Regions from separate parts of the Homo sapiens genome. Here regions 1, 2, 4, 5 and 6 are each linked to region 3. The links are contacts of gene promoters, found by promoter capture Hi-C in blood cells and fetal thymus (Javierre and others, 2016). All regions are on one chromosome and are shown on one strand. The core of a region is centred on a gene start or on the middle of the fragment in contact, and the rest is flanking DNA. Distances in the headings are between cores, read along the strand shown.

The links. Contacts are between HindIII fragments. The CHiCAGO score rates a contact against its expected background, and 5 or more counts as called.
Region 1: a contact is called between a fragment that was not itself captured here and the fragment with the promoter of ZSCAN25 in region 3, in 5 of 17 cell types (erythroblasts, M1 macrophages, M0 macrophages and 2 more). The highest score is 10.7, in erythroblasts.
Region 2: the fragment with the promoter of ARPC1A here is called in contact with the fragment with the promoter of ZSCAN25 in region 3 in 1 of 17 cell types (neutrophils); the score reaches 5.3 in neutrophils.
Region 4: a contact is called between a fragment that was not itself captured here and the fragment with the promoter of ZSCAN25 in region 3, in 7 of 17 cell types (erythroblasts, fetal thymus, naive CD8 T cells and 4 more). The highest score is 7.5, in erythroblasts.
Region 5: a contact is called between a fragment that was not itself captured here and the fragment with the promoter of ZSCAN25 in region 3, in 1 of 17 cell types (M1 macrophages). The highest score is 5.1, in M1 macrophages.
Region 6: the fragment with the promoter of AZGP1 here is called in contact with the fragment with the promoter of ZSCAN25 in region 3 in 14 of 17 cell types (M1 macrophages, erythroblasts, M0 macrophages and 11 more); the score reaches 17.4 in M1 macrophages.

What each region holds. Positions count from the first base shown.
Region 1 is chr7:99,898,492-99,901,191 of GRCh38, forward strand. All of the region lies in intron 5 of TRIM4 (tripartite motif containing 4), which reads right to left. Among named protein-coding and RNA genes, the nearest start is that of TRIM4, 20 kb to the right of the region's middle. The HindIII fragment of the contact is 1,756 bases long and covers 411-2,166 here.
Region 2 is chr7:99,324,617-99,327,316 of GRCh38, forward strand. It overlaps ARPC1A (actin related protein 2/3 complex subunit 1A), which reads left to right and starts at 1,282. Exons shown (of 10, transcript NM_006409.4): 1 at 1,282-1,388. LOC105375421 (a long non-coding RNA gene) reads right to left here and starts at 1,192. Exons shown (of 4, transcript XR_927798.3): 1 at 898-1,192. RefSeq lists an enhancer at 848-1,407 and a silencer at 1,383-1,562. The HindIII fragment of the contact is 5,893 bases long and covers 1-2,700 here.
Region 3 is chr7:99,615,578-99,618,277 of GRCh38, forward strand. ZSCAN25 (zinc finger and SCAN domain containing 25) reads left to right here and starts at 1,369. Exons shown (of 8, transcript NM_145115.3): 1 at 1,369-1,439. RefSeq lists enhancers at 515-1,494, 1,085-1,404. The HindIII fragment of the contact is 2,601 bases long and covers 1-2,481 here.
Region 4 is chr7:100,079,461-100,082,160 of GRCh38, forward strand. ZNF3 (zinc finger protein 3) reads right to left here and starts at 2,263. Exons shown (of 6, transcript NM_032924.5): 1 at 2,175-2,263; 2 at 76-196. RefSeq lists enhancers at 2,202-2,351, 2,508-2,700 and a silencer at 2,592-2,671. The HindIII fragment of the contact is 2,766 bases long and covers 68-2,700 here.
Region 5 is chr7:99,942,768-99,945,493 of GRCh38, forward strand. No RefSeq gene overlaps it. Among named protein-coding and RNA genes, the nearest start is that of GJC3, 15 kb to the left of the region's middle. RefSeq lists an enhancer at 1,191-2,046. The HindIII fragment of the contact is 523 bases long and covers 1,052-1,574 here.
Region 6 is chr7:99,974,690-99,977,660 of GRCh38, forward strand. It overlaps AZGP1 (alpha-2-glycoprotein 1, zinc-binding), which reads right to left and starts at 1,342. Exons shown (of 4, transcript NM_001185.4): 1 at 1,256-1,342. The coding sequence starts at 1,331. The HindIII fragment of the contact is 13,516 bases long and covers 1-2,971 here.

The DNA of each region.
Region 1 (2,700 bases), core at 39-2,538, 280 kb after region 3:
AGCTGGCCTTACTTACCCTAAAATTGGGCTGGTAGATGCACCTGGGGTCGTCTTCACCTGCCGGACACATTCTGTCCCATTGAGACACCATTCTTACTAACTGGGAGAGTATAAAAGCCAGGCACTTCCAGAAGTGTGCATTCTGGAGTTGCAATTTGGAGACCTCGCTAAACATATGGCTGCAGCCTTCAAGGATACCTGTGCCATGCCATTACTCTTCTCACTGGGCAACTGTGTAAAATCGCATGGCCCTGGATATCTTAACTGCTGCCCTGGGTGGAAGCTGCACATTAATTAAAACCAAATGTTGTGTATATATCCCTATTACTCTCACATTATAACCGGGGTTATGTGAACCCTAGAAACCCATATTTCAGTAAAAATTCTCTATCTTATCAAGTGCTTGGAAAAGCTTTCTGTAGAGTATGATTGCTACTATGCTTGTCATTGTCTTTTGTTGCTGTAGTTTCTAACGCTGCTGCAGCATCTGGCAGCAATGCTACTGCACATACCTTGCCTCAGGGAAGTTGCAGAGAATGACGTGATAAGAATGTGGGGGCCATTCAAGGGTATGCTGGACTGCAGTGTACGGCAGACACACCTGACAGCAGTAACTCCAGCACACCCTGAGAATAACCCTATGGTCTAAGAAGACTGTGTATTCAGAGTTCTGAGCTAAAGAATCCAGGAGTGGCCAACCCAGAAATGCACTCCTCATCTATAAAGGCCATGTGAACTCCTGGTCCATTCCTTGGAATGCAGGCAATACAGGGAATCGAGGCCCTTTCTTTTGGGTTAAATGGAAGGTCCCAGGTGGAGATTGCTAAATGAAAATGCTATATATAACCTGCATGCTTTTTACAAATAGCAGTGGTTTGTTTTCCTGTCCAGCTGGCCATTCCTGGACTGCCCTGCATGTAGGTCTTCAATAAACCCCATGTCTCATTCACTACTCCAGATCTCCTCTTCGGCCTTTCAGACACGGTGCCATCCTTAATGAAGTCAGTAGGGGACTGGCACAAGTATACACCTTTTTATCAGTCTCCCTTCAAGTGATATTATACCACTTCACACATGAGAACTGTATCATAGTATACTTTCATCTCTCCTCTCCCAATCTTCACACTACTGTCATGGATTTTACTTTTAAATATAAGTTCCAAAATACACCATATTTTGTCTGTTGAAATAGTCAATTATTAGGGTTCTCCAAAGGAACAGAACCAAAAGGATATATATGTCTGTGTCTGTGTATGGTGGGTGGGTGTGTGTGCGCACACGTGCATGCATGCACCTGTGAGTTTTCTGGGTTTTCTTTTGAGATGGGGTCTCGCTGTTGCCCATGCTGGAGTGCAGTGGTGCAATCACAGCTCACTGCGGCCTCAACCTCCTGGGCTTAAGCCATCCTCCCGCCGTGGCCTCCCAAGTAACTGGGACTACAGGCACACACCAGCACACTAATTATTTTATTTTTTGTAGAGACAGGGTCTCACTATGTTGCCCAGGCTGGCCTCAAACTCCTGGCCTCAAGCAATCCTCCTAACTCAGCCTCCCAAAGAATTGGGATTACAGATGTGAGCCACCACACCCAGCCAGTGTATAAGATTTAATATAAGGAACTGGCTTGTGTGATTATTGCTACTGACAAGTCCGAATCTGCTGTGTGAGTTGGCAGGCTCAAGACCCAGATAGAGCCAGCGTTCTAGTTGGAAGGCCATTAGGCAGGAAGAGCCAATGCTGCAGTGAAGGCCAAGGTAGTATGCTTTAGAAATCCATCAGAAAGGTCAAGCCTTTTTTTTCTATTCAAGCCTTCAACTGATTAGATGAGGCCCACCCACATTATGAAGGGCAGTCTACACAGGCTTACTGACTTAAATGTTAATCTTATCCAAAATCACCCTCAAAAAAACACCCAAAATAATTTTTGACCAATATCTGGGCACTCTGTGGCCCAGTCAAGTTGATGTATAAACTTACCATCGCAATTCCTTTTTAAAGGAATAAATAATGACAATAATATATATTTATTCGTGTCATTACCATTTCTGGTGCTCTTTTATTCCTTTGTGTAGAGAGATTTCCATCTGGCATTTTCCTTCTGTCTGAAGGACTTCCTTTAAGACTTCCTTTCTTGAAGTGTCAGTCTGCTGTAAACTCTTTCTTTTAAGCTTTAGTTTACCTCCAAACTTATTTATTTCACCTTTGTTTTTGAAGGATATTTTTTGCCAGTTCTAGAACTCTAGGTTAACAGTTTTTTTCTTTCAGGACTTTAAAGAGTTTGCTTACTGGCATTGTTTCCAATGAGAAGTGTAATGTCAACTTCGTCTTTGTTCCACTGCAAGTAACTATCCTCTCCCCTGGTTGCATTTAAGATTTTCTTTTTAACACTGGTTTCCAGCAAGTTATGATGAGCCTTGGCATATTTTTCTTCATATTTCTCATACTCAGGGTTTGTTGAGCATCTTGGATCTGTGGACTTAGTTTTTATTATATTCAGAAAATCTTTGGCCATTATGTCTTCAAGTATTTTTCCTATTCCATCTCCCTCCCCACTCCTCTCTTTCAGGGACGCCAATCACCATAGATAATAAGGCTGCATAAAGTTGTCCCACAGGTCACTGATGCTCTTTGTGTTTTTGTAAATTGTTTTATTCTGTGTATGTTTCATTTTTTTGTAGTTTCCATTGCTCTGTCTTCAAG
Region 2 (2,700 bases), core at 32-2,531, 290 kb before region 3:
GAGAAAGGCTCCGTCTCAAAAAGATCACAGCGGGTCTGAAATTGAGAGTTTGACAAGTATACCTACATAAACCTCACCTTACAATACCAAAGGGAAGGAGACAAGCCCTTGGTTGGCCTGGCATGGCGCTGGGCGGCGGCGGGGGGGAGCTCACATCGCTTTGGGAAGCAGAGGCTAGAGGATTGCTTGAGCCCAGGGGTTCAAGACCAGCCTGGACAACATAGGAAAACCTCATCTTTACAAAAAATATAAAAATTAGCCAGGCACAGTGGCTCACACCTGTAATCTGAGGGCTTTGAGAGGCCAAAGAGGGACGATCGCTTGAGCCCAGGAGTTCAAGACCAGCCTAAGCAACACAGCAAGACCCTGTCTCTACCAAAAAATAAAAATTAGCCAGGCGTGGTGGTGTGCACTTGTAGTCCCAGCTCCACGGGGGGCTGAGGCGGGAGGATCGCTTGAGCCCAGGGGTTCCAGGCTGCAGTTAGCTATGATCGCGCCACTGCACTCCAGCCTGGGCTACAGGTTGAGAACCTGTCTAAAAAAAAAGAAAAAAGAAAAGCTCTCGATTAGCCCCATCTGTGGGGGCTGGGGATGCTCCAGAATTTCTAGGGTTCAAGGGCAGCAGCCTGATTGCAGGTGGGGATCAGGGCATTTCTTGGAGGCTGCATCTGCGGGGCAGGCTCTGTCCTCTGTGAATTGGGGGCCTTGCCAAGTTCCCCCAACCCTTTTATCCCTGCTGCGCCATCTTGGGAGCAGGGAACTGCTTGGGAGCAGGGGATTCTGTCCCAGGAAGGGTCGAGAAAGTTCCTGGGGGGCTTCAGGGGCTTTCCACAGAGGGAGCACGGCGGGGGCGGAGGCTCCCTGCAGGGAGCAGCGCTGAGGTAGACTGGCTCTGACCTTGGCTCTCTGAAGGGAGAAAAACTTAATCGTTCTTCAGGTCCAAGAGCTCCAAAGACCCCCAATCCTCAGTAACTCATCTCCTGACAAAAGACCTTGCGAAACTGCCAAAGCGCCACACTTCGGCTCGCGATTGTGAGGAAATTGGTTGAGGAACGGAGTGGGACGCCCATGCCGCTTCGCCAGCACTTGCCAGGCGTTCCGTGGGGCAGCATCTCCTCTGAAGGGCCGCCGACAGTACCACGCCAATGGAACGGCGTACCCTCCTCCACTGCAGCCTGCCTAACCCCGGACTGCGCGCCCGAGCTGTGCGCATGCGCGGACCGTCCGCGCGGTCGCAACGCGCAGGCGCCGTGTCCACTTCCGGGATCTGTCAGCCGCTCCCTCTGGGCTTCCGTCCTCCGCCCGCGCCCGACGGAGCCTGTTCGCGTCGACTGCCCAGAGTCCGCGAATCCTCCGCTCCGAGCCCGTCCGGACTCCCCCGATCCCAGGTAACGGCCAGCAGGGGCGAGCGTCTCACCCTGTCGGCCTCTCTTGTCCAGGCCTGGCGCCGGACTTGCCGCGGGGGCAGTGAGACGGGGGCTCAGGCCGCGGGGCCCCGAGGCTGAGGCGCGGCCGGGTCTCCCTGCCGGGGCCTCCTGAGGGGGCGGGGATCCCCTTTCTCCGTGGATCCCCTGCAGCTTTTCTCAGGATGTTCGAGCTCCTAGCCGCCTCCGATGCCCGAATTAACGGCCCCTTCTGCGCCCCCAGGGTCCTACTTGCACCTCTGCTGGGGGCATTTGTCACCGTCTCTAAAATTGTGTCAAGTAGGAGGATCTCCCGTAATCGAGCGACCCGCGGGACTATTCATCTCTTTAGTGTCTAGAGTCGATCCCTGCATACAGTAGGCGCCCATAGGATGTTTGCCTGCTCTCTAGGGCAGCCCTCAATCCTTCGGTTAATGGGGAACCTTCTCGATCTCGAGAAAAACCTTCTCCCGAGTTCTTTTAAGATTTCCCTGCATGAGTACCGCCTTCCCCCAAGTCAAAATTGCACCCTTCTCGGCGCTCTTATTCATTTAGTGGAATCTTTTATGCCAGTCCTGGCACCACCACTTTGTTGAGTGATCCTGGGAAGATGCTTCTCTGCGCCTGTTTCCTCATCTGCAATAAAAAGATTCTTACCGTTTTGCTAAGAATCAAGTGAGCTTATTTGCATAAATTGCTTAGAATAGTTCCTGGCCGAGAGTAGGTGATCAATAAATATTAGCTATTATTACTGCTTCTGGGCATTCTATGCATATCCGTCTTCCTTTCCTTTTCTATCTCCTCCACTCTCCCCAAACACCAACCCTCCAGACTTGAAGACCAGAATGGTGTCAGCCTTATTTATGTTTCTAGCCCCATCCCGGTATTTACAACACTGCTGGGAACATGATAGGCACTTAATCAGTTATAGCTTAGAATCTTTGATTATAAAGCCATCTGTTCTCCTGCAGCTTTGGAACCTTCTGTCTATGTCAACTCGTAGCTTAAATTGCCGAGATTATCTTAGTTCTGCCCTCTCTCCTCAATTTTATCTAGTCTTGTGGTTTCACATAGGGCCTGGGTTTTCAGGTATCTAAAAACAGAGGAGGGGCATCAGTCAGGAAGGTGTTTTTGTCCTGTTAGGGAGTGGGTAACTGTGGTTGTTGTCTTCCTTTTTTTTTTTTTTCCTGCAGCCTCGACCTCCTGGGCTTAACAGATCCTCCCACCTCAGCCTCCTGAGTAGCTGGGACTACAGGCGTGTGCCACCACACTGGGCTAATTTTCATTTATTTTTATT
Region 3 (2,700 bases), core at 119-2,618:
TGGGGAGGATTGCTCGAGCCCAGGAGTTTAAGACTAGCCTGGGCAACATAGTGAGACCCTGTCCTTACAAAACATTTTTTAAAGATTAGCTGGGTGTGGTGGCTCATGCCTGTAGTCCCAGCTATTTGGGAAGCTGAGGTGGATTGCTTGAACCCAGGAGTTGGAAGCTGTAGTGAGCTATGATAGCACCGCTGTACTCCAGCCTAGGTGACACAGCAAGACCTCGTCTCTTAAAAAACAAAACAAAACAAAACAAAAAAACAACAACTGTGGATTTTGTAGCACATTAGAAACAGCTGAAAAGTGGATTATTAATAAAAAGGTGAAGACATAAACCCAAGTCAAATATGGGCAGACAAGAAAAATATGAAAGTGGGACAGAGACATGGAGGATAAAGTGAGATGGTCTAACACCTATGTTATATTCTAGGAGTTCATTTACTCTATAAGTGTATATTTTTAGCAAATATTGTACCAGACACTTTGCAAAGTGCTGGAGAAGAGTAAGACAAGAGGGTTTCCTGTTTCCTGAGTGGATTCTGGAGTAACACTGGGCCACCCAGTTGAGACAGACTGCCTTCAGGCTGGACGCGGTGGCTTGCGCCTGCAGTCCTAGCACTTTGGGAGGCCAAGGGGGGAAGATCGCTTGAGTCCAGAAGTTGGAGACCAGATTGGGCAACATAGAGAGATCCCCCTCTCTGCAAAAAATTGAAAAAAAGTCCCAGCTACCCAGGAGACTGAGGTGGGAGGATTGCTTGAACTCAGGGCTTCGAGGTTGCAGTGAGCTATGATCTCACCACTGCACTCCATCCTGGGAGACAGAACAAGACTTCTCTCTCTCTTTCTCAAAAAACACAAACAAACAAACAAACAAAAACCCCCCACAAAAAACAGCTCCGATGCTGGCTCCTCCAGGAAGCCTTCCCTGACTACACATACACACACGCACGCACACTACCCGGGGTCAGGAGCCTCTTAAGTGAGCCGGTTAGATCCAGTGCGCCCCCTATCTCCTCTGCCCCTACGCCTCGCGCAAGGCCCTCGCAGCCGGAATAGTCGCGCATTGACCGACTGGACTCTAAAGCCCCTTGGGGCAGGTGCTGTGTCCAGTAGTGTATCTGGCGATGCACCGAGTCCTTTCCACGGAGGGCAAGCAGGTGAAATGGCACGGAAGTGGAAGGGGCCTAGCCACAGAGCGCCTCGAGCTGGGCAGTCAATCCTGGGGAAGCCCTGGTGGTCTTCGCCTCGCCGGGTTCGGAACAGCAGGCTGGGATCAGCAACCATCGAGACGCATCCGCCGAGACCTCCGAGCATCCTAGAGAGGACACGGAAGCGAGTCTTTCCTTACGCACCTGTCTAACAGCGTCCGCAGCTCACTTCCGGACCGCGGATAGCACTGGCGACCCTAGCGGGTGAGAGGCCCTTCAGGGCCGCGGCGGGTGAGAGCCTCTTCAGGGCCGCAGCGGGTGGCGGGCGAAGTGGTAAACGGGCGCGGGGACGGGTTTTGGTGCCGCTACGGGGCTCGGCGGCAGCGGGGTTGCAGTAGAGCCCGTCTCCCTCCGCTCAGCCCCGGCTGAGGGCGGCAAGTCTCTCAGGAGCTGCCTTCAGCGGCCCCGAGGCCCTGCGGGTCTGGACGCTGAGGGGCCGCCGCGCTGTAGGCTCAGGTAGGAGCGAGGCTGATCCCGCTCTGCCAGGCTTGGCTTAGTGCAGGGCTGGCCACGAACCCGAAGAGATCTTGAACCAAAGCAGAACTCTGTGCAAAGTGAAAGTAATCACATAGGACACTTATTTAAAGAATAGTGATGAGCCAGCCTGGTCAACATAGCGAGACCCTGTCTCTACAAAAATTGAAAAGTAGCCGGGCGTGGTGGCACGCGCCTGAGGTCCCAGCTACTCGGGAGGCTGAGGCAGGAGGATCGCCTGAGCCCAGGAGTTCAAGGTTGCACTGACTTACATTCATGCCGCTGCACTCCAGCCTGGGCAACATGGGGAGACCCTGTCTCTACAAAAATAAATAATTAGCTGGTCATGGTGGCACTCGCCAGTAGTCCCAGCTACTCGGGAGGCTGAGGTGGGAGGATCGCTTGATCCTAGGAGGCAAAGGCTGCAGTGATCGCACCACTGGTCTCCAGCTGGGGTGATAAAACCCTGAGATCCTGTCTCAGAAACAAAACAAAAGAGTCACAATGGGTGGGGGGAGATAAAGAATAGCAATGGGGCAATTTCTATTTGTCAAATGGCAGAGATAAAAGATGAATGAGGATCTTTCTTGCCTCCAGGGAATCTGTTAGAGGGAGACACATGGGTAAACATTTGCACTGTAGTGCATTAAATGCACTAGTGGAGTGAACCAATGCAATAGCTAGAAAGGAATGAAAGAGAAATCTCAATGTTGCAGAGTCAATGAATAGACTGAAAATATAAACTTGGTTTAAGTGGGGGTAGATAAATACACAAACTCACAATAGAATATTTAGCAGAAGCTTTGGGGTGTGCCTCCTGCCAGCTGCCCATTCTCTGCTCCAGTCAGGTGATCTTTCCGTTTTCTGACAAGCAGGATCTCCTTCCCCTGGTGCTTTGGACTTCCAAGTCTGTCTTCCCAGTCTAGGTCTTCCGCATAATCCACTTGGAGGTAAATAGGACTCATTCTCCAGTCTACTTCAAGCCTCTTCTTTTCCTTGAGTACTTGGACTTAGATTA
Region 4 (2,700 bases), core at 201-2,700, 460 kb after region 3:
CCTCACTCCCTGGTGCTGCCCGTGGGGACCGAGATAGATGGCCTGGCAGTAAGAACAAGACACGGAAAGCTTTACCTGCCTGATTCTTTCCTTCCTTCTTTGAAGTCAGTCCCTAGAAGGCCAAAGGAGCAATTACTGGGAATTTAGCAGCCTCTGTTCAAGTTCCCGGGAATTCTGACTTTTGTTGATGCCAATGCTGTGTGATTAAGGGGAAAAAAAGGAATTTAAAATATTCATGCAAACGTCTTTTTTTTTCCATGAGACAGGGTCTGACTCTGCTGCTCAGGCTGGAGTGCAGTGAGTTTGAGCTCACTCCAGACTCAAACTCCTAAGTTCAAGTGATCCTCCCAGCTCAGCCTCCCAAGGAGCTGGGACTAAAGGTGTGCACTGCCACATCTGGCTGAGTTTTTTAAAATTCTTTTTGTAGAAATGCAGCCTCACTGTGTTGCTCAGGCTGGTCTCAATCTCCTGGCCTCAAGTGATTCTCCCACCTCAGCCTCCCAAAGTGCTGGGATTACAGGCATGAGCCACCGAGTCCAGCCTAAACTTCATTTCTAATCAAGACATTTAAAGAAAAGGAAAAAAAAGAGAATACTTATTATATGCTAATAAATACCAATTAAGACCACCACCACAACTAGTATTTGCGTTGCACCCGTGGAGAGATGAAAGGGAATGGTAGGTTCTCAGGTCCACCTCCACCCAGGGTAAGAAAGTTCTAACGTTCTGTCAGCTAACTTGCTAGACACTGTGCTCCGAACTACTTCAGCAGGGGATCCACATTGCACAGCTGAGCCATTAGAAGTCTTCAGGTGATTCGCTGAAAATCTATCTCCTTGGACCTTCACCGCACAGAGACCTAGTGCATCACAGAAATTCAATGACTGGCGACCTGCAGTGGCTCACGCCTGTAACCCCAGCACTTTAGGAGGCTGAGGTGGGAGGATTACTTGAGCCCAGGAGTTCCAGGCTATGGTGAGCCATGATGGCACCACGGCACTCCAGCCGGGGGCAACAGAGCAAGACCTTAATACACACACAAACATTTTAAAAGGAAAAAAAAAAAAAAGGCCGGGCGCGGTGGCTAACGCCTGTAATCCCAACACTTTGGGAGGCCAAGGCAGGTGGATCACTTGAGGCCAGGAGTTGCAGACCAGCCTGGCCAAAAGGGCGGAACCCCGTCTCTACTAAAAATACAAAAAATTCGCCGGAGGTGGTGGCGGGCGCCTGTAGTCCCAACCACTCGGGAGGCTGAAGCAGGAGAAGCGCTTGAACCGGGAGGCGGAGGTTGCAGTGAGCCGAGATCGCGCCACTGCACTCCAGAGACAGTCTCAAAAATAAATAAAAATTAATTTTTTTAAAAAAAGAGCTTCAATAACAGAATCTTCTCCTTCCACCCGACTGTCCATCAAACACGTATAATCAAATGATGCCCACTCTCCACAGATGTCTTTTCTGGAGAAAATAATACGCTCGTTCCTCTAATTAGCCCATCGGTTTCAGGTTCATCACTCTGCTATCTTCTCCTGGAGTTTACAAAAGCCCTTCAGAGTGTAAACACCGATGTGGATTCAATCCCACTTCCGGAGAGAGGATCAAACCAGGAATCTAATACAACTGAAAACGGAGCCTGAGCCAGGTGTATCACGCGATGCACTGGGCTCCAGCAGGATTACCCCTGGAATCGGCGTCTGCACCCACTCCCAGCCCTCGTGCTAACTGCGTACGCTTAGCAGAATTTCTCTGATCCTTGGACCCAGCTGCGTAAAAATAAACTTCCTCTCCTGCCACGGGCGCGAATAACTGTGTTAACATCAAATAAAAACGTCTGGGAGAAATACCAAGTTAGGGTCGCTGTCATTAGCTGCTTTCAAGAGAGAGGCGCCCCTACCGCTCTGCTGAAACTTTTAAACGCTCCAGCTGGGTCGCCGTTAAAGTCACAAAACCAGAACCGGAGCCCCATTACTAACCCCTACGCAGGATCCCGCTAGGCTAGGGGGATCCCTGGGGAAGCGGAGTAGAGGACGGGCTGCAGGGGACGGAGGGGCGCCTCCCCGAACCCTGCTCCGGGCCGGCCGGGGGACCCTGCGGGCCGCAGTGGCACAGACACCACCCCCTTCCCCGGCGACCACAGCCTCCGTCTCACCGCGAGACCCGGGGACGCGTGGACTCACCCTGGGGGCAGGGACGACAGATTTGGGGGACCGGACACGGACCAGGCCCTGTTGGACCCTGTCACAGACCCACACACCGGGGACAGAACAAAGAACGGAAGTTCCCCCTCGTTTCGCTTCCGGGTCGGTTGTTCTTGCCACTCACCCGTACCCCCAACGCCCACTTGTTCTGTCTAGGAAAATGGGAGGTCCTCGCCTCTCTGTGGTTTGCTGACTCAGGGCGGCTGGCAGGCGGCGAGGGCAAGGAGCGCGATCGCTGACGCGGCACTCGGGGATCTTTCGCTGCGGGGGCTGGCCGGCTGCGCCCTCTGCTGGCCACGAATGTGCGAAAGCGGCCGACCACGGTCCTGGGCCTCAGGACATGTGCTCCAGCGTCGCCGGCCTTGGGGGCGGGCGGCGGGGGCGCGCGGGGATGTCGAGCCCGCGCTTCTCAGGCTGGCTCGCGAAGGGCAGCAGTAAACATACAATTATTGAAGGATTCATCAATATTAAAAAATGAACCCTGATTTAAAACTTGCCTCCGAAC
Region 5 (2,726 bases), core at 63-2,562, 330 kb after region 3:
GATAAAGAAGATATTTGATTGTTACAAATGAGTCCATTTATCAAATCCTAAATGTTTACACACGTAATAACAGAGCTTCAAAATACGTACAGCAAAAATTAATAGAAATACATGGAGAAATAGACAAATTCACAAAATAGTTAAGGAGCCAACACCCATCTCTCAAAAATTGATAGGACAAGTAGACAGAAAATCAGTAAACAAATAGAAGGCTTGAACAATACTATAAGCCAAATTGACCTAATCAACAAAATTGACAATAGAACATTCTACGCAACAATACATTCTTGTCAAGAGCACACAGAACATCTACCAAGATAGATCATGTTCTACACCATAAAATAAGCCTGGATACATGTAAAAGGATTTAAGTGATACAATATATGTCTTTGATCACAATGGAATTAATAGGGATGGTTTCAGTGCATATATATATATGTCAAAACATCACATTTTACATTTTATGTGCAGATTTTTGTATGTTACACTTTGCTAAAGCTGCTTTTAAAAATATATATAAAGAGCATGAAAAAGCAAGCCTTGTTATCAGGGATATATAAAGAACTACAAATCAATAACAAGGACAAACTTAAGAGAATATAGATGATAGTCATGAAAAGGCACTTCACAGAAGAAATCCAAATGGCCAATAGACAAATGAAACGTTTCCAGAGTCGACCCTTCCCCGCTCTGCAAAATCACTTCTCAAGAAGAAGCCACAGAGTCAGGTGTGTTCAGCACATTTTTGCTCACAACATGTGATTATATCCTTGGAAACCAAGAGTTGTGACCCCACCATTCTGGGTTACACAGATGGTCTAGCCAGAGTGACCAAAGTCCTTGTCTAAATGTCTGAAGTGGGAGTGGAAAGTGGGGAGCTGCCTAGGACCCAGGAAATAGGGGACATTTTTCAGTTGCATGAGTTTCTCCTGAGTCCTCAATGGCTCCATTTATAAATGTCCCTAACCCTGGGTCAGTGTGGGTATCGGGGGAGGAGACTAAAGTTGGTGATGGGGATTGGGGGGATGGGGATTCTGCCTAATTATTTCTAAGCTTCTGACAGCACCCTAAAGCACAAAGACAAACTTCTCTTTCACAATTATTTTCTGAGGATTAATGCCAGAAAAGAAGCCCCCAAGGGTAAAGGGAGCTCTCATTCCACTTCTTCTATCAACAATGCCCTCTTTGTCTCTCTCCTTCCCACCAGACAAGACCAGCCTCCTCCCACAGCCATACGTTGACAACACGTGCCAAGGCCTGGGGCAACAGGGTACCCAGGGTGAAGGGCTCACCCAAGAGTAGGGAGCGAAGAGAAATGTGGAAGCTCAGCACCTCTGTGCCCCAAGAACGATGATGAAGTGGCGTCATTTGTCTGGAGTAATACCCAAGATTCATTGCCTCACGCCAAGGAAATCAAGAAGGTGGAGACGCACAAGGAGGAGTTTAAGATTGGAGGTTTAATAGGCAAAAGAAAGAGAAAAAAGAAAAGCTCTCTCTCCTGCAGAGAGAGAGGGACTTCCGAGTGGGTCTTCCGGTTTTGTGGTGAAATGCACGGGGGGGGGGTTTTATAGACAAGCTTGAGGAGGCAGTGTCTGATTTACATAGGGCCCGAGAGATTAGTCAGACCAGGTGTGCCATTTGCATAGCGCACCAACAAGTTGGCCATCTCACCTTAACCTTTTATTATGCAGATGGGGTCTCTACTTGGCCATCACCACGTTGCCTGCTTTTTTACTGCAAGCGTGTTGACAAAGGAAAGGGAAGAGGGCACCTCCATGTTGAATATACCTGGCTTCCAGGTGTCCCTTTTCTATTGGCACAGCTGTTGGCATTTACCTATGCAAGCTTTTAGCTTGCTTATCTATGCTTGCAGCTTAATTTTTCAGGCTGCTTATTGTTAGAAAAGAAATTATTTGGGGGCTGCTTTTCATTAAAGGGAAATCTTACCACGGACTCTCTTACCCTCACTATCTGCCTAAATAATTTTTTTCTAGCTCCTGTATCAATGACAGAAGGGATCTTTCTTCTCCCTCCCTCTTTTCCACACCTGGGTGCATCTACCTGGTTTGGGGGAGGGTGAGCGACACAAGGAACAAAGGTTGAGAAGGAATCAGCAGAAGAAAAGGCTCAGAACTGAAAACAAAGCATCTTCCACAGAGTCAAATATAACAGCACAGGGCCTAGGATACTGTGTGACCTAGAGAAAAGGGAGCAAAGCCAGCCTTGGGCCCATCTTTCCGCAGAAATCTGGAAGAAACAAAACTATAAACTGGTGAGGTCTTAAGAGTGCACAGGTTTTAAATCTGTAATATTGACCAACAGTCAGCAAATACATTTCTTTCTCACCAGTATGGCAATGATTCAACTGAGCAACAAGTTGAAATCAAAGAACTGGTGGTACGGAGGCAGCATCCTGGTTTTATTCCATGCTCATCCCTTCCTGTTCATGCCTGGATTTTTTTAACTCTTTTTCTTTTTCTTTGTGAAACAGGGTCTCACTTTATCATCCAGGCTGGAGTGCAGTAGCACGATCTTAGGTCACTGCAACCTCAACCTCCAGGCTCAAGTGATCCTCCCACCTCAGCCTCCTGAGTAGCTGGGACAACAGGTGTACACCACCATGCTTGGCTAATTTTTTTTGTTTTTTTGTGTGGTTTTTTTTTGTTTGTTTGTTTGTTTTGAGACGGAGTCTAGCTCTGTCACCCAGGCTGGAGTCCAGTGGCGTG
Region 6 (2,971 bases), core at 92-2,591, 360 kb after region 3:
ATGGATACCTCATTTTTGATGATGTGATTATTTCACATTGCATGCCTGAATCAAAACCTCTCATGTACCCCATAAATATATACACATACTATGCACCCACAGTTTTTTTTTTAATTTACAAAAAAATCAGTAGACCTTGAGTAAAGTGGATTACTCTCCATAGTGGTGGGCTTCATCCAATCAGTTGAAGGCCTTAAGAGAAAAAGCCTCAGATGTCCCCTAAAGAGGAAAGAATTCTGCCTACAGTCTGCCCTTGGAATCAAGACTAAGACATCAACTCTTCCCTGGGTCTCCAGCCTGCTGGCCGGCTCTGAAGATTTAGGACTTGTTACTCCTCCCAATAGTGTGAGTCAATTTCTTAAAATAAATCTCTACTCTCTCTCTCTTTTGTATACATATATGTAAATCTCTTCCTATGTGTGTGTGTATCCATGTGTATACAGTGTATGTATGTATGTGTACGTACATATATATGTATATGTGTACCACCTATTAGTTCTGTTTCTCTGGAGAACCCTGAGTAATTCAGATTTTGGCACAGAATCAGATTAACATTCCAAAGTGATTGTTATATAACAAACATATAACACCTTTTCTGACAATTTGTAAATGTCATGAATTTTAAACTCACACAACTGAGAAGCCATTCGCTTCCATGTCTTTATCCTGCACATTCTCATGCCACAAACAGCCTCCTTCCCTTATCCTAGGAGTGACTCTTGATCTCCCGGAGCTCCCACTCTCTTCTCTTCCAGCCACTCGCCTTCCAGACCCACTGCAGTGGTGTCTGAGTGTGGGATTTGGGCACGGGTTTCCTTCTAGCACCATCCCTCCAGCCAACCTGCCTTCCCACTTTCCCCTTGGGGCTGCTCTCTCTTTCCCTCAGCGTCAGGCAGGTGTACCCAGCCATCGGAAGGAGGGAAGGAACAGGAGCAGAAGCAGCTCCAGGCATATGGTTCCTACTCCGTCCTGACTGTCTACCCCAAGCAGGTCGCTTGGTCTTTGGAGTCTTTGTTTTCACTGTAAACTAGGGGTTTTAGATTCAGATTCCTGAAGGTCTTATTTCGGGCCAGCGCAGAGGCTCCCTGAATGCTCCTGGAAGTGTGTGAGCTGAGGGAGTTGACAGCCTTGGGCACCCATTCCTGCCGTATGCCAGGGTATCCCAGCTGCATCCAGCCTGTCTCCCAGCCACATGTCCTGTTCCTCACCTCCTTCCAGTCCTCTCCAGCACCCATCCCTTGCTTTCCCCACTCACCATCTTGGTTCTCCTGGGGGACAGCAGGACCCAGAAGCAGCAGCAGAGACAGCAGGACAGGCACCATTCTTACCATTGTGTCTGCTTGGAGGGTTCTGGGCAGGAGGCACAGATATTATCCTGGGTCCTGGGGCCCTGCCCAGGGGAGGTGAATCTACAGGCCAATGGGAGTGCCAGGACGGGCTCCTCCCCTAATAGAGAAAAAAAAATGATACACAAGCTAGGCTGGGCAGAGGTTATGAAGAATGAATCTACACACAGGATATGCAAATTCAGAGCTGAGTCCAGAGTTGATCTCTGGACTGAGGCTTTGTGTGTGCCTGGGGTGGAAGGATGCCAGTGGGTAGGAGGTGCGTGTGATGGGTGGCAAGCGCCTGGGATGTGTCACCCTTCCAGTCTATTGTGACAACCCCTGGGCCAGTAGGGGCATTTGTGTGTTTTTGGACCACACTGTATCCCTGCCTTCCAGAAAAACTCTCAACATGTCCAAGACATGGACCTGGGTAGACCCCAGCTGGGGTGGGACCCTCACTCTCCCACATCCGATCCTGCCAGAGGCTGTGTCTGGAGGACAGTCACATTCCCATCTCTCCCTCCTTCCTTTCTGTGCCTGTGGAATCCCAGCCTTCCATGATGGAAGCAGAAATAGCCGCATCCTCCTTTTGCAGCCTCCCTGGCAACAGAACGAGCCTCCCAAAATGCTGGGATTAAAGGCGTGAGCCACCACGCCCAGCCAAGATAATTTTTAATGCATACAACAAGACTCGTTTTACACAGACGAAGCCAGTTATTTGAAAACCAGGTCTTTCCAGGCACGCTCAGTGTTGATGGGCTATTTGCAGAGAGACCCTCCGAATACAAAGCAACATGCTATTCTAAAGTGACTGGGGCCCGGGTGCGGTGACTCATGCTTGTAATCCCAGCACTTTGGGAGGCTGAGGTGGTTGGATCACCTCAGGTTGAGGTCAGGTACTCGAGACCAGCCTGGGCAACATGATGAAACCTCGTCTCTACTGAAAAAATACAAGAATTAGCTGCGCGTGGTGGCACATGCCTATAATCCCAGCACTCAGGAAGCTGAGGCAGGGGTTTCACCATGTTGGCCAAGCTGGTTTTGAACTCCTGACCTCGTGATCTGCCCGCCTCGGTCTCCCAAAGTGCTGGGTTTACTAGTGTGAGCAACTGTGCCCAGCCTCTCTTTTGGTTAAAGAAACCTACAAAGGGACCTTTTATAGTGACTTCAATTTTATGGAATAATTGTAATGCTCCTAAGGCCGTTGTGCTCCAAAGTCTAGCCGCAGGTATTGTTATTGATTGGGCTCCAAAAGGGCATTATTGGCAAGATTGCTCCAGCAAAAATACCTCATGCTCAGAGTTTAATTATTTGTTAGATTATGTAGAGGATGGATGGCAGTCATACAGGCTGAGACAATGGGTGTCCCCTTACCTATTTAAATGGATGGATGCAGGCATTACTCCTCCTAGACCAAAAATGATTCATCCCTTTGTTACCCCAGAACATCCTCAACTATGAAAATTAGCTGCAGCTATGACAGGAATAAGGATATGGAACACTACCTATCAACTCCTTCACACTAATACCAAAACACCCACATTCAACATCACCCTCATATCTGAACGGGTGATACCCATCAGGAGCTATGTCAAACCCCCTTACATGCTGTTGGTTGGAAATATAATTATCATTCCCAATAC